Linked DNA regions of Homo sapiens: regions 1, 2, 3 and 5 are each linked to region 4. Evidence: promoter capture Hi-C in 16 types of primary human blood cells and fetal thymus (Javierre and others, 2016). All regions are on one chromosome and are shown on one strand. Each heading gives the region's core, a stretch centred on a gene start or on the middle of the fragment in contact. The rest is flanking DNA. Distances are from core to core; before and after follow the strand shown.

Region 1 (2,700 bases), core at 100-2,599, 1.8 Mb before region 4:
TTAGAAACTCAAGGGTCACTCTCAGCTGCCAGTAAGAAAACAACCTAAGATACTGTTGAATAGTATTCATTCAGTTAATTATGGTGGACCTCAAAAAGTCATAGGAATTTCCTCTAGCACTGTTAAGTAAATAGTTAATGGCCTTTTATTAAAAGACTAATTTTTAAAGTCATAGCAGAAATTCTTGATCCATTAAATGATAGCAAATACCCTTTGAGTGTCAAACATTGTATATATTTATTCTTTTCTTGCAAGCAGAAAATAGGTGTTACTTATCCCCATTTTTCAGATGAAATTGAAGCTTACAGAGAGGTTAAATAACTCCTCGAGGTCACCTAGCTAATAAACAGCACACCAAGAATTTGAACCAAACAGACAAGTCTCCAGAGCCTGTACCATAAGGGAACTGCTTGGCTGTTTATGATTCAGGGATTAATTTCTGTCTTCATGAAGCTGCTGCATTTTGATACAAAATGTTATATTTCCGATTTGATTTCAACTCCCAGCTTCATGCTTTAAAAGAAGTAGTGTTTTGACTGCATTTAGTTATTTGTACAAACCTGTAGCACCCCCTCCTGGCCATTCGAGGTATACCATACATGTTATATTACCCCAATATTAGACCCCAACGAATGGCAAAGACTTCGTATAACGAATGGAAAGGTCCCCAAATGCAAGGCAGGTTCCAACTGCACACCTTATGTGCTTGATAGTTTTAGGCAAGAGACTCCTTCTTGCAGGGCTGTCATTTCCCCCGCCTCAAAATCAGAGGAGTGGGTGATGTTTTTGGTCTCTTCTAGTTCTAATTGTGATTCTGAATTGAATTGATAAACTGGATATTGAAGGAATAGGTGTGGTGAAATGAAAAATGGAAGCTTCTAGTTTTTATTTTGATCCAACAATAATGCATGTTATTTGCTTCCTCTTGACTCAACATTGCTCTAGGAAAAGCCTATTCTATATAGACTCCTTAACAAAAACATTGATTCCTAAAGGTCTTCTGAATGTTTGGATAGCCAATGGCTTTGCAGCCCAGCCTGGCCACTACATGAGGCCGATGACTTTAACAAACTTATTTCAGGCCAGTGTAAATGCAGTGTTCAAAAATCCCACCTAAGAAGGATGGGAACACGGAGGTTTGTGTAGGTAACATGCAGGTGTGTGCACATGTACCCAAGAATGCACACACACATACATGGACACAACTGCAATTGATACAAAAGGCTGAACTGTGCTGATTCTTACAGGTACTTGGTTCTGGCCCAGTCTGGAAAAAAAGAAAAGATCCTTAGTCTAAACATGCATACAAAATAGAATTCCCACCATGCTTTGATGTTATCTATTTATAATTTTCAATGTTTCAATGTTTTGTGGTCTTAAAAATTACAAGGATTATTATCAATAATCCTTGTACCTAATGTGCCTTGACTCTGAAGGACATGGTAACTGCCTGTGGTTTAGAAAATGTTTTGGCTAAAAGACAAGTTCTCCTCCCTCCTCTCATTTTTATATCACAGAGCTGCACGGGGGCTTGGATCAATGCCTGAATCCAGTGTTCCTGAGTGCAGAGCATCTTTGCTCTGGGTGAGCTTTGACCATCCTGGAGAAGAAGGCTGCTGCGGGGGTGGGACAAAGCCAAGACCAATGCCCAGCGGCCAAGGCCAGCCAGATGGCTCTGTGCTGGCAGCCAGTGTACACGGATTTTACCTGAAGGAAAATGTCACATTTTCCACAGACAACTGAAGAAAGAGAGCTCTTTGGATTACCCTAATTGTGATTTACTCATTGGAACCACTGTTTTGGATTGTCCAAAATTAAGTCTCAAAGCTTAAATATGAGGCTTCAGGGAGTTATCCTGAAATCAGTGCTTGGTATCTTCTTGTTTTTTGCTTGTTTTTTAAAACCTTAATTCTCATATTTTTCTGTCATATTTCTCAGTGCCTGGTACATTATCACCATTAATCCATGCCAGTTATGTACAGTTTTGCATGTTTGTTTTTTATTTTACTCTTTTCTCTCCTTCATTCCCTATTCCTGTTCCCCCATAGGTGCCCAGTCTAATGTATTTGATATCTGTCCTTAGAGCCTCCGTATCTGTGAAGACTAGAGTCATGCACTTCATCACATTTCAGTAACGATGGGCCGCATGTACCACAGTCCCATGAGATGATAGAGGTGCAGAAAAATTCCTGTCATCTAGTGACATCGTAGCCATCATAACATCACAACACGACTCTCATTTGTGGTGACCCTGGTGTACACAAACCTACTGTACTGCCAGTTGTATAAAAGTCTAGCACATCCAGCTACGCACAGTACATACTTGAAAATTATAATAAATGACCATGTTACTGGTTTATGTAATTACTATATTATACTTTTTAATCATTATTTTAGAGTGTACAACTTCTACTTGTAAAAAAAAAAAAAGTTAACTGTAAAACAGCCTCAGGCAGGCCCTTCAGTAGGAATTCCAGAAGAAGGCACTGTTGTCCTAGGAGATGACAGCTCCATGTGTGTTACTGCCCTGATGACCCTCCGTGGGTACAAGATGTGGAGCTGGACTACAGTGATATTGAAGATCTCGACCCTGTAGGCCTAGGCTAATGTGTGGCTGTGTCTTGATTTTTAGCAAAAATGTTTTAAAAGTGAAAATGTTAAAAATAGAAAACAGTTTATAGAATAAGGATATAAAGAAAA
Region 2 (2,700 bases), core at 102-2,601, 1.2 Mb before region 4:
AGAAGCCTGGGTCCCTGATGACTGAAGCCAACACGCTCCTCTAAACTGCCTGCCTCCAAACTAATGTTTTGTTTTTTTTTCAAACAGGGTTTTACTCTTGTCACCAGGGCTGGAGTCCAGTGGCAGGATCTTGGCTCACTGCAACCTCCGCCTACCCGCTCAAGTGATTCTCCTGCCTTAGCCTCCCGAGTAGCTGGGACTACAGGTGTACACCACCACGCCTGGCTAATTTTTGTATTTTTAGCAGAGACGGGGTTTCACCATGTTGCTCAGGCTGGTCTTGAACTCCTGAGCTCAGGTGATCCACCCACCTCGGCCTCCCAGAATGCTGAGATTACAGGCGTGAGCCACTAAGCCCAGCCTCCAAACTCATTTTGAATAAAATAATAATCCCTTGTGTTATTGTAGCTTGCCTATCACAAGCAGACAGACTTAATACTAACTGATACAGTGGTAGGGAGCCATTGAGGAGTTTTGAGAATAGAAATGACTCAGCCAAAAGACATCACCTACTGCACCTGAGGAAATTATTATTCTTCTACTTGCCCACCTGACACAGGAGAAAGGGAGCAATCACACGCTCGTGTGTGAGAAGAACAAATTTTCAGATTATAAAAGTTTTGGAATCTTGGGACATAGGACAAGAACATTACTGCCAGGGTACCAATTTGCATTTTTTTTTCCAGTTCATTGTGATATTTAAGAGCTTGAGAATCAGATCAGGATTCAAATTTTGTGTGTGCCATTTATAATAAATCTAGGACAAGTTAACTTTTCCAAAGTCCAGTATTCTTAGCTATTAAATGGGCTAAAAGTACCTTCCAATCAGGGTTGTTGCAAAAAACAAATGAGAAAATGTAGGTCAAGTTCCTTGCCAAAGGCTGGGGCCTAGTTGTATTTATCACTGCTGTACTGCTATTTTGTTTCCTGCACTTCAGTATACACATAACGAACACTGCAGTCTCCTCTTCAGGTTCCATTTTTCATGATCCTCATTTAGAGGCACAGGACCACTCTCAAGACTTACTTGTTTTCATAAAAAGAAGAAAAGAAATTTGGGGGAATGTGCAGAGTCGCCCTTTACTCAGTCTCTCAAAGGAGACTGTGCAGTGATTATCAGAAATCTCTTATACATAAAGAAAGAGTATGGCCCAAAAATGTTAGTTTCTGTACAATTACAGAGAACGTGGAACTGTATCTTACTCATAGTGAGGTTAGAAAATGCTACCAGTTACCCTTTTCTATGCAATTTCCCATAAGTGATCGTCCTTCTAGATATGTGTGCTATCATAAGCAATATATTTGGTCTTTATCTCTGGTTCCTGGCACAGAGCACTTAAAACCTTTAGAATTTCCCAAGTGATAGGAGTATATTTTGTTATTGAATCCCTTTTTATCACACTTGAGTTTATACTAATGAGATGACTTAGGGTGGGGCTCCTATATAGCAGCAAGATGGGACTGGTCACCAGAAAGACCAATTGATTATAGGGCTGGAACTTTCAGCCCCCCAGGGAGGGGCGGGGAAGACTGGAGATTAAGTTCTATAAAAACTCTCGAAATGAGATTTGATGAGTTTCCAATTTGGTGAACACGTCCACGCAGTGGGAGCATGGAGTACCCCATGGGGACGGAAGCTGCTGTGCTCCGTACCCTTCCAGACCTTGCCCTGTGTACCTCTTCATCTGGATGTTCATTTGTATCCTTTATAATAAACTGGTAAATGTAAGTAAAGTGTCTTCCTGAGTTCTGTGAGTCATTCTAACAAGTTATGGAACCTTAGAAGGGGTTCATAGGAAGCTCCTATTTATACCTGGTTGGCCAGAAGCACAGGAGGCCCAGGACTTGCAACTGACATTTGAAGTAGGGGGCAGTTTTGTGGGACTGAGCTCTTAAGCTATAGGGTCTGTGCTAACCCCGGGTGGTTAGTATCAGAATTGAGTTAAGTTGTTGAACACCCAGCTGGTGTCCAGTGAGTCCAAGAGTTGATTGTAGGTATTGGAAAACACTCCAGAGTATGTTAATACTTCACATTTATGGATGTCTAGATGGGAAGTATTAGAAATTAATGGAGAAGGTTAATGTCTTTTTAAAAAGAAAAAGGCAATGTATAAATGGTCTGTCTGATATCACTCAGTAATGAACAAGAGTGAGAAGAGACCCTAGGAGGAATTTTGTCTTTATATTCATTGCAGTATTTTGAGGGATATTTTTCCAGATTTTTTTTCCCACAGATATGTATACAAGGGCTTCCTTTATGTGTTTTAAACATAATTTGAATCACACTCTAGAGTTCTGTGGCATTTTTAAAAAACTTATTGCCTGGGCGCGGTGGCTCACACCTGTAATCCCAGCACTTTGGAAGGCTGAGGTGGGTGGATGACGAGGTCAGGAGATTGAGACCATCCTGGCTAGCATGGTGAAACCCCATCTCTACTAAAAATACAAAAAAACTAGCCAGGTGTGGTGGTGGGCGCCTGTAGTCCCAGCTACTTGGCAGGCTGAGGTAGGAAAATGGCATGAACCCGGGAGACGGAGCTTGTAGTGAGCTGAGATCGCGCCACTGCACTCCAGCCTGGGTGACAGAGCGAGACTCCATCTCAAAAAAAAAAAAAAATCAACCAACCGAACAAATAAAAAAAACTTATTAATACATCAACAATGTAATTTCACATAATATAGAGCTACATAAGTACTTAC
Region 3 (2,700 bases), core at 140-2,639, 1.7 Mb after region 4:
AAAGGAGAGAGATGTCCCCCAAGATGACTATTCTAAAAAGATGAGTTCTGCTAACAGAGTTTCTCAATCTTGGAACTATTAATATTTGGGGCTGGATATTTCTTTCTGTGGAGGCTATGCTGTGCATTGTAAGATGGTTAGCAGCACCCCTGGCCACTAGCCACTAAATGCCAGTAGCACCCTCTCAGTGTGACAACCAAAAATGTCTCTAGACATTGTCAGATATTCCTGGGAGGCAAAATCTCACCTGGTTGTGAACCACCATGCTAAAGCACATCCAAGGAATTTTGGAAAGACAGAAAATGGAGTCCTTATTTCATGTAGGGAGTCAGAAAAAGCGTTTTTTGAGTTAAGCTCTAAAATTTATTTATTCAGCAAATATACTGAGCATCTACCAGATGTAAAGTGCTAGATTATTCATGAAGTGATTTAGGAGTTTCCTAAATAGTGGGAAGAGTATGTACCCAGAACAGCACCATATGTTCAGAAAACTACAAGGTGTTTGATAGCTATGGCCTGTGATATATGGGATGGTCAGTAGGAAAATGAAGCTAGAAACTAAAAATGCTCCAGTTTAAGAAAAGCCTTGGGCTTCATGCCAAGGGGTTAGGAGTTTGGGGTTTACCCTGTGGATGATGAGAGGTTACTAAAAGATATTAAGCAAGAGATTCTTATGGATGAATCACATTGACTGTTACACAGTTGGTAAAGCAGTCTATTGAAAAGTCAAACATCCTGTCAACTACTACCTGCCCTACAAAAAATGACCATTGTGTCTGAGTTTCCTCACTGAATGAATCTCACAGATGATCTCTCAGAGCTGAGTTTCCTGGGTTTACAGATCCTTAAGGAAAATTCATTTCTGCTCCTTCCTATGGAAGACTTGCCTTTCCAATAGCTGTGAGGTGCAACATTATTGCCATGTGCACTAGAAGTCCTGCCATCCAAGCTGGAAAAGGAAGAAACATAGTTGGAGGAAAACCCCAAATGGATAAAGCAATCTGCAGAGCCTAACTATTTTACCGATGCCCTAATTTCTAACTTCCAGAATATACATTTTTATTTTTGAAAAGCAAACTTTGCTGCTTGAATCTAGTTTGGATCTAGGTGGTTTGGGGCAGCCTGCCAGGCTCACAGATTAAGTGAAAGTCATTACAAAATGTTTTTACGCACATGGGAATCACAGGGATTGTTTGGTGCTAGTTTGGCTCTCCACCATTAATTTTAATTATCTCAAAATGCAAACATGCTGAAATTTCCAGCAGATGACATTATTTTCTCCTTGACATCAGACATAAAAGGAAGAAAAATAAACATACGACAGTGACAACATTAAGCTGGTAGGCATTTTTCTTTAATATTTCAAATTCAATTCCAGACCAGATTCTCTGTTTTGTCCTAGAGATTAGGGTAGGAAGATTGTCGTCTTGGTCTGATGAAAGCCTTGCCTTTCCAGTTAGCTTAATTAAAGGAAAAAGGGAGGAAGCCAGGAGGAGAACAGTCTGGTTTAGATCAGGGTCAGAGGCTTGGTTTTTACAAACACACCACAGATTCTTGTTGTTTTATGTTTTCAACATTTTTCTGGTTCTTGGTAGAAAGTCCAGTTCCGTTTTCAAAATGAACTAACCCCGTAGGTCCAGTGACTTGGCACTTTTTTTAAGTGTTTGGTGTTTCTGATGACAGCAGACCAGAGCCAGGAAGATTGTGTAGGTTCCCACATAGTCTCAGGACACGGAGAGATGATGGGTAGCTACCATGGTAAACTAGCAATGTGGGTACCCTAGTTCTCAAGGTCTATAACTAGTACCAGAATTAGATCATTTATCAAAACTTTCTTACACCATTTAAAAATTAATGTGTAAATTCTATCTGCTGTGGAGACTATGTTCATGCTAAGTCTCTTTACTTCCTCTTGCTATGTAATATGTCGTTTACTGTATATTACAAGAAATGCTAAGTGTGTTCAGCTATATACCTAGGGTAACCAACTCATCCTGACTTGTCTGGGACTTTCCTCATTTGCCTAAGACCTTTCTGGTTTTAACACTGAAAGTCCTCCATCCTGGGAAATCCCTCCATCCCTGGTAAACCAGGATAGTTGGTCACCCTAGTTGACTATATATCAATTGCATATATACATTATATAGTTGGTGGTTGAGAAAAGCTAATTAGTCACAGCTGTTTCTTATCAAATGAAAGAAGAAAGCCTTCTCACTGTGACCACAAAAGGCTAAAACACACAACTATATTTTACATGTGACTAACACATTGAAAATAACCAAATATTAAAAAGGCTTTTTAAAATAAATCAACTTTATTGATAGTTTGTTTACAATAAAATGCATTGATTTCAAGTGCAAATTTCAATGAGTTCTGACAAATATATACACCACATAAACACCACCACAATCAAAATAAAAACTTTTTTTTTAATTTAAAAGTGCCCCCTTCCTAGTCCATTTCCCACCCCTCTACCCTGGCATAATTCTGTCATCAATTTTCTGCTAATAATTTGGAAAATATCAATTGAAGAAATTATTTTTAAGACTATGATTACTAAAAGAATTGATTCAGAAAGAAGAAAAAGAAATAAGCCAAAAACTATGCAATACATTTTAAAAGTTGGAAAACAGTGTCAGATGGTTTAAAGGAACTTAATTTTCAGGCCATCTGAGTTCCTATAATGCATAGAAAAGGATG
Region 4 (2,700 bases), core at 54-2,553:
TAGCTAAAGGTTAGCGGGAATCACATTGCTGCTTAAAAGTTGTGACTTGAACCTAAATAATGTTCAATTACAAAGTCCATGCTTCCTTTAATCAAGTGTTCCTATTTTTTAAAAAAAGTACTTAAAGCAATTCGTTATTCTCATTTATTTATAATTCCATGACCACTGTCATCTCAAATACTTTTGTGTCTAATGTAGTAACTTTGCAGTAATTAAATACAAGCAGTGATGAAATCAAGTAATTATATTCAATTTTCCCTCGAAATTTTCACTTTTTTCAGGAGAAAACAATACTATAGTTTTAAAGTTTCTAGAACCTTTCTAGCTCATGAACATTTTCTTTACTCCTTAGCTCCAGGCTCAAAAGGGGTAGGGGGTTGGTGTAGAATACAGCAAGTTGGAAAACCACGTAGTTGCAAGTTGTAAACCACAGAAATCCCAGACATGCTAGAGATACTCTCTCTGTCTTTTGTATTTACTCTCACTAAAGGAATGGAAAACTTCCACTACCACCGATTTTCTTTTCAGGGAAGTTGGAGCAGAAGCCAGTGTAGCTCGAAAGAAAGATAAAAAAAAAAAAAAAAAAAAGAAAAAGAACTATTTCTTGAAACAAACTGGCAAGGCCTTTGGCAAACAGGAGGAAATGGAGAATTAGGAAAATCTGTGTACGGGTGGCAGTGTATTGGTTAAAAGCACGAGGGCTCGAAAACAGAACGTACGGCTCTGCCACTCTTTCGGATAATCTTCCGGAAGTCACTCAACTTCTCTAAGCCTCAGTTCGCTCATCTGCAAAATTGGGCTAACAATAGTACCTCAGAGAGGATTAGACAAAATAATCCACGTAAAGGGAATATTAGTACCGTGCCTGCCATAAAGTAAGAGCTCGGCAAACGCTGGCTATTATTATTACCTGGGGGTGGGTCTGCTGCTGCCCTGGGGAGTAGCCGAATTGCTGCTGGGACCCCGCGGGGGACCTGGAGTAGGAGCCAGGGTAGCCGCCAGGGGACGGAGACCCGAACCGGCCCCCCGGGAAGCTGCCGCCGTGTCGCGGAGAGTGACTGCTCCCGTACGGCCTAGACCGGGGCCCGTACGGCGGCGTGTGGTGCGGACTCCCGTACCCGTCTCGAGGGGAGGGCGGCCGTGGTCCGCCCCCGCCCGGGGTTCCCCGGAAGCTGCTTCCGCTACCCCAACCTCCTCCACCCGGACCAGGGTAAGGAGGAGTTGGGGGCCGAAAATTCTGTCGCTGCATATCAGGAGCCAAAGCCGAAAACCTCGCAGCCGCGTTCTCCCACCGGAACTGTATCAACCGGCCCTCCGCAGAGAACTGCTAGTCCTTTACCAAAACAGTCCTCCGACCGCAGCCACCCTACGGCACATCAGTTCCGGCGTCACAAAGGTTCCGCCAGGGGCGGCGGGATTACCTAAATCACTGACTTGGCGAGAGACTCAGTGGATTTAAGTGAAAAGAGGAAGAAAAGGAGACAGGAAAGGACGGACACCCAAGCCCAGCAACAACCTTTCCAGTCTGAGTGCCCTTGGTCTGACCGACAGACTAGAAGCTGGCCCAGCAGGCGACTAGTGCTCAGCCCCGCCCGGCGGGGGCGGGGTCTGCGGCGTCCGTGGGCGCCCCCCAGTGGCGGCGGGTGGCGCCGCACGGAGTTCGCCGCTTGCACCGGGACCGATGCCATCTGAGACGCACGCGATGCTGGCGACGCTGGCGAGGGTGGCAGCTCTGCGCAGAACCTGCCTCTTCTCCGGCCGGGGCGGCGGGAGGGGGCTGTGGACTGGCCGCCCGCAGTCAGGTACCCTCCGAGATTCGGTCTGGGTGGCTAAAGGGATCCCTGCCCCAGCTTGCCTCCTCGGGCGCCCTGAGGAGAGCAATTAGGGTCTGAAGTCTCTGCTGACCCCTTAGCGGTGGCTTTGCTCGCCTCCCTGCAACCCCGTTCCGTGGGCCTGCGGCCGGCCTGCCCCGCTCTGGCCGCCCAGGGTCGCCTCTGTCCCGTGCGTTGTTGTGACCGAGGGCTCCGTGCGCCGTGGGGTCCCGCTCCTGCGCGTCCCGCGGCTCGCGTTTGGGGCCTCTTTACTCCTGTCCTTTCGTCCGCCAAGTTTAAGTAACTTCGAAAATGCACACCAAGCCACATTTCAGAAAGGACTTTAGCCCGCTGCTTTGAATAACTTGACACTTCATGTACAATAAAAGATGCCCTTGTACAGTTACCTGTTGCAGAATTTTATTTAGAGGATGAAATTTAGCTTTACTACAGTGTTATAGAACTTTCTTTACTCCCTCTGAATTTGGGAATGGTAATCCACTATGAATCTTTTTTTTCCTTTTTTCTTTTTTTCTCTTTTTTTTGAGACGGAGTCTCGCTGTCTCGCCCAGGCTGGACTGCAGTGGCGCGATCTCGGCTCACTGCAACCTCCTCCTCCCGTGTTCAGGAGATTTTCCTGCTTCAGCCTTCCGAGTAGCTGGGATTATAGGCATGCGCCACCACGCCCAACTAATTTTTGTATTTTTAGTAGAGACGGGGTTTCGCCATATTGGCCAGGCTGGTCTCGAATTCCTGACCTCAAGTTATCCTCCCGCCTCGGCCTCCCAAAGTGTTGAGATTACAGACGTAATCTCTATGATTATGCGCGCGGCCCACTATGAATCTTGAAATTAGTTGCAGGATGCAGGATTTTTTTTTTTTTTTTTGA
Region 5 (2,700 bases), core at 93-2,592, 1.6 Mb after region 4:
TCTACTTTAAAGATTCCTTTGCAGTGGTCTCTATCCCCTTCACTCTGGTATATGATAGCTATCTGGTATCCTGGCCCCTGGGTTAGAATTTCAATTCTAAAACATTATACTAGTTTTAAAACACTAAATGTTTGTTTTGTATTATTGCTTGAGTGAGAAATAAGCCTTTATTGATTTTGAGGCATCATCATTTTGGGAACTATTTCTTCTAGCAACTATTACCTTCAAGACAGAGAAGAGCAGAAGATGAGAAATTTAAAGGCAGAGGCTTGGGAACCTTCATATTTACGAGGTGAGTGGAGGAAGAGGAGCCTGTGAGGAGCTTTGAGAAGGAGTCAGATGTGTAGGAGAAAAACAAGTAGGGAACATTGTCAAGGAAGCCAAGAAAAGTGAGAGTTTGAAAAGGTCATATGACACGATGTGGTCAAGTAAGACACTGACAGAAAGGCCCAATAGATCTGGCAATATTCTAATCAGTGCCAGTGCTAGCCTGAGCAGATCAGCTTTGTTACTTGGGGATAGATTTTAGTGGGAAGAGAAGGGGATGAGAAGACTAAGGAGATGTATTCTGTCAAACGTGAAGAAGAAATTGAGTAATGACTAGAGAAGGAGACATTGAGGATTGAGAGAAAGCCCTTTTAAATTTTAAGATAGAGATTTAAGCTCTTCGGAGAGAAGTGAACTGCTAAAGGTAAATAATTTTACAATATGAGAGAAGACAGATAAGCAAGTTTCCTGCTGAAGTGAGAAATGATGGATTGATTCCAAAATAGACCCACATTCACACCACTCCTTACCACCTCCACCACCGTCCCTCAGGCCAAACTGCCATCCCTATTGACCTAAATATACCACCACACCTGAATAATTGCAACAGCCTCCTAGCAAATCTCCCTACTCCCATCCTTGCCCCCATAGACTATCTGGAATCCAACACTCAAAATGACCCTTTCAAAAATGCAAGGCAGATGAGGTCTCTCCTTTGCTCCTACCCTCCCGTGGCTTCTCCACTCGCTCACTATTGTGGCCAGAGAGAAGCTACGTGACCTGGCCACATCCCCGAACGTGCCTTCTTCTCTGTTTCTCCTTGGTCTCTGTCTTCTTCCCATGTGATCCCCCTTGCTATCCTTCCAACAGAATGAGCTCGTGCATTTCCCAAGCCTTTGTGCTTGACGTCGCCTCTGCCAGGAATTTCATCATTTTCCATCAGACACCCTCGCAGCTCACTCCCTGAATTTCTTGTTATTTGTTTCCAGATCGCTGAAGCCTTTTTGGACCACTCAATATAAAATAGCAACGGACTCCATCCTGGTACACCCTAACACCCAGGCTGTTTCATTTTTCTCTGTTATATTTATCACCATCTGAGGTATTTTTTTATTGCCTATGTGACAACACTAGAATGAGGGTAGAGACATTGTTTTGTTAACAGCTAAATCTTGGCACCTGAAACTGTGTTTGACATGTAGTAGTTGCTCAATAAATATTTGTTGGCTGATGAATTAATCCTAAGCATAGGTGGTAGGATTAGCCTTAAATTAAACAAGAAGAAAAAAAAATAAAGGATAGGCATAGAGAGACATGATAATAACTGACAGAGAAGGGAATTAAGAGAATTTTCATCTCATTGATTTTGCAGTAAAAAAGAAGGTAAGCTCATCTGCTGAGAGAGATGTCAAAGCTGGTGGAGGTGGTGGAGTGGAAGGTTTGAAAAGACAGATGAAATGTTATAACAGTGGCAGAAGCAGATAGGAGATGAGGGGGCTTCCGAACACCTCCAGGCATTCTGGAAGTCATTGAGACTGAATGCACAGAAGTTTCAGGAACACCAAACCACAGAGTTGTTCTGTCTTACCCAGAAGTGTTCTTCACTGTAAAGTGTAGAAGAGAGAAGGTCAATTGTTTAGATATAGCACTCCTGTCCAGTAGAACTTTCTGCAATCATGAAAAGTTTCTACAATCTGTACCGTGCAATCGAGTAGCCACTGGCCACGTGTGCTTATTGAACATTTGGAATGTGGCTATTGTGACTGGCTGCACACTACACAGTGCACATCGGGCGATCCAGACTCAGATTCTGGCAGAGCAGGAGCTGAGAAAGGACAACAAAGAATGGGAGTAAAAGGAAAGGTCAGTAAAGAAACTGAGCTGTGCCCTCAGGAATCTGAACCAGGTGAAGAAAGAAGTGAAGCCAGAAAGCAACTGATAGTTTGTGAAAAATAGCATCATCCAGGAATCAGAGATATCGATGATGTGAAATGTAGGTATGTTGAGAGAGAGTGAGAGCTAATGGGCATTGGGTCTCAGAAAATGGAATGCTGAAGATTAAGATTTCAAAGGACAAACCATTGTGAATAGTGAAACAGCCCAGGGCATGGGCATAGGATGTGTTTCTTATGTGGAGTGGTTGTGAAAGTCTTTGGTGTTAAGGGATTCAAAGGTCTGTAAGAGAGGGTTGGCTGAATAAAAAACCTGGGGTAGATGTCTGGCACAGAGATGTATAATGTGATAGCCACAGCCTCAAGGCTGTTTTTAGATGAAGGTGGAAATACGATGAAGATGATGCTCTGTTAGTTATCATTGATCAAGCACTCATTTCTGCTACGCATGGAGCAAAGTGCTTGATATATGTGTAATACCCTTTCACCCTTCAAATAACAATTTGAAATAGGTTTTCTTATTATTGCTAATTACAGATGA

What was found. The method cuts DNA at HindIII sites, captures the fragments that hold promoters and counts their contacts. A CHiCAGO score of 5 or more calls a contact.
Region 1: a fragment that was not itself captured here is called in contact with the fragment with the promoter of MPLKIP in region 4 in 2 of 17 cell types (naive CD8 T cells and activated CD4 T cells); the score reaches 7.5 in naive CD8 T cells.
Region 2: a fragment that was not itself captured here is called in contact with the fragment with the promoter of MPLKIP in region 4 in 3 of 17 cell types (non-activated CD4 T cells, activated CD4 T cells and naive CD4 T cells); the score reaches 8.9 in non-activated CD4 T cells.
Region 3: a fragment that was not itself captured here is called in contact with the fragment with the promoter of MPLKIP in region 4 in 2 of 17 cell types (neutrophils and total B cells); the score reaches 8.4 in neutrophils.
Region 5: a fragment that was not itself captured here is called in contact with the fragment with the promoter of MPLKIP in region 4 in 1 of 17 cell types (neutrophils); the score reaches 6.7 in neutrophils.

What each region holds. Positions count from the first base shown.
Region 1 is chr7:38,374,040-38,376,739 of GRCh38, forward strand. TRG-AS1 (T cell receptor gamma locus antisense RNA 1) reads left to right here. Exons shown (of 4, transcript NR_040085.2): 4 at 1,518-2,700. Among named protein-coding and RNA genes, the nearest start is that of TRG-AS1, 34 kb to the left of the region's middle. RefSeq lists a silencer at 449-743. The HindIII fragment of the contact is 952 bases long and covers 874-1,825 here.
Region 2 is chr7:38,915,735-38,918,434 of GRCh38, forward strand. No RefSeq gene overlaps it. Among named protein-coding and RNA genes, the nearest start is that of VPS41, 7.9 kb to the left of the region's middle. The HindIII fragment of the contact is 5,075 bases long and covers 1-2,700 here.
Region 3 is chr7:41,868,637-41,871,336 of GRCh38, forward strand. No RefSeq gene overlaps it. Among named protein-coding and RNA genes, the nearest start is that of INHBA, 170 kb to the left of the region's middle. RefSeq lists an enhancer at 1,989-2,038. The HindIII fragment of the contact is 5,071 bases long and covers 1-2,700 here.
Region 4 is chr7:40,133,319-40,136,018 of GRCh38, forward strand. It overlaps MPLKIP (M-phase specific PLK1 interacting protein), which reads right to left and starts at 1,304. Exons shown (of 2, transcript NM_138701.4): 1 at 911-1,304. The coding sequence starts at 1,249. SUGCT (succinyl-CoA:glutarate-CoA transferase) reads left to right here and starts at 1,687. Exons shown (of 14, transcript NM_001193313.2): 1 at 1,687-1,802. The coding sequence starts at 1,703. RefSeq lists silencers at 1,030-1,099, 1,560-1,759 and an enhancer at 1,310-1,379. The HindIII fragment of the contact is 4,548 bases long and covers 1-2,700 here.
Region 5 is chr7:41,715,728-41,718,427 of GRCh38, forward strand. All of the region lies in intron 2 of INHBA-AS1 (INHBA antisense RNA 1), which reads left to right. Among named protein-coding and RNA genes, the nearest start is that of INHBA, 14 kb to the left of the region's middle. The HindIII fragment of the contact is 4,048 bases long and covers 1-2,700 here.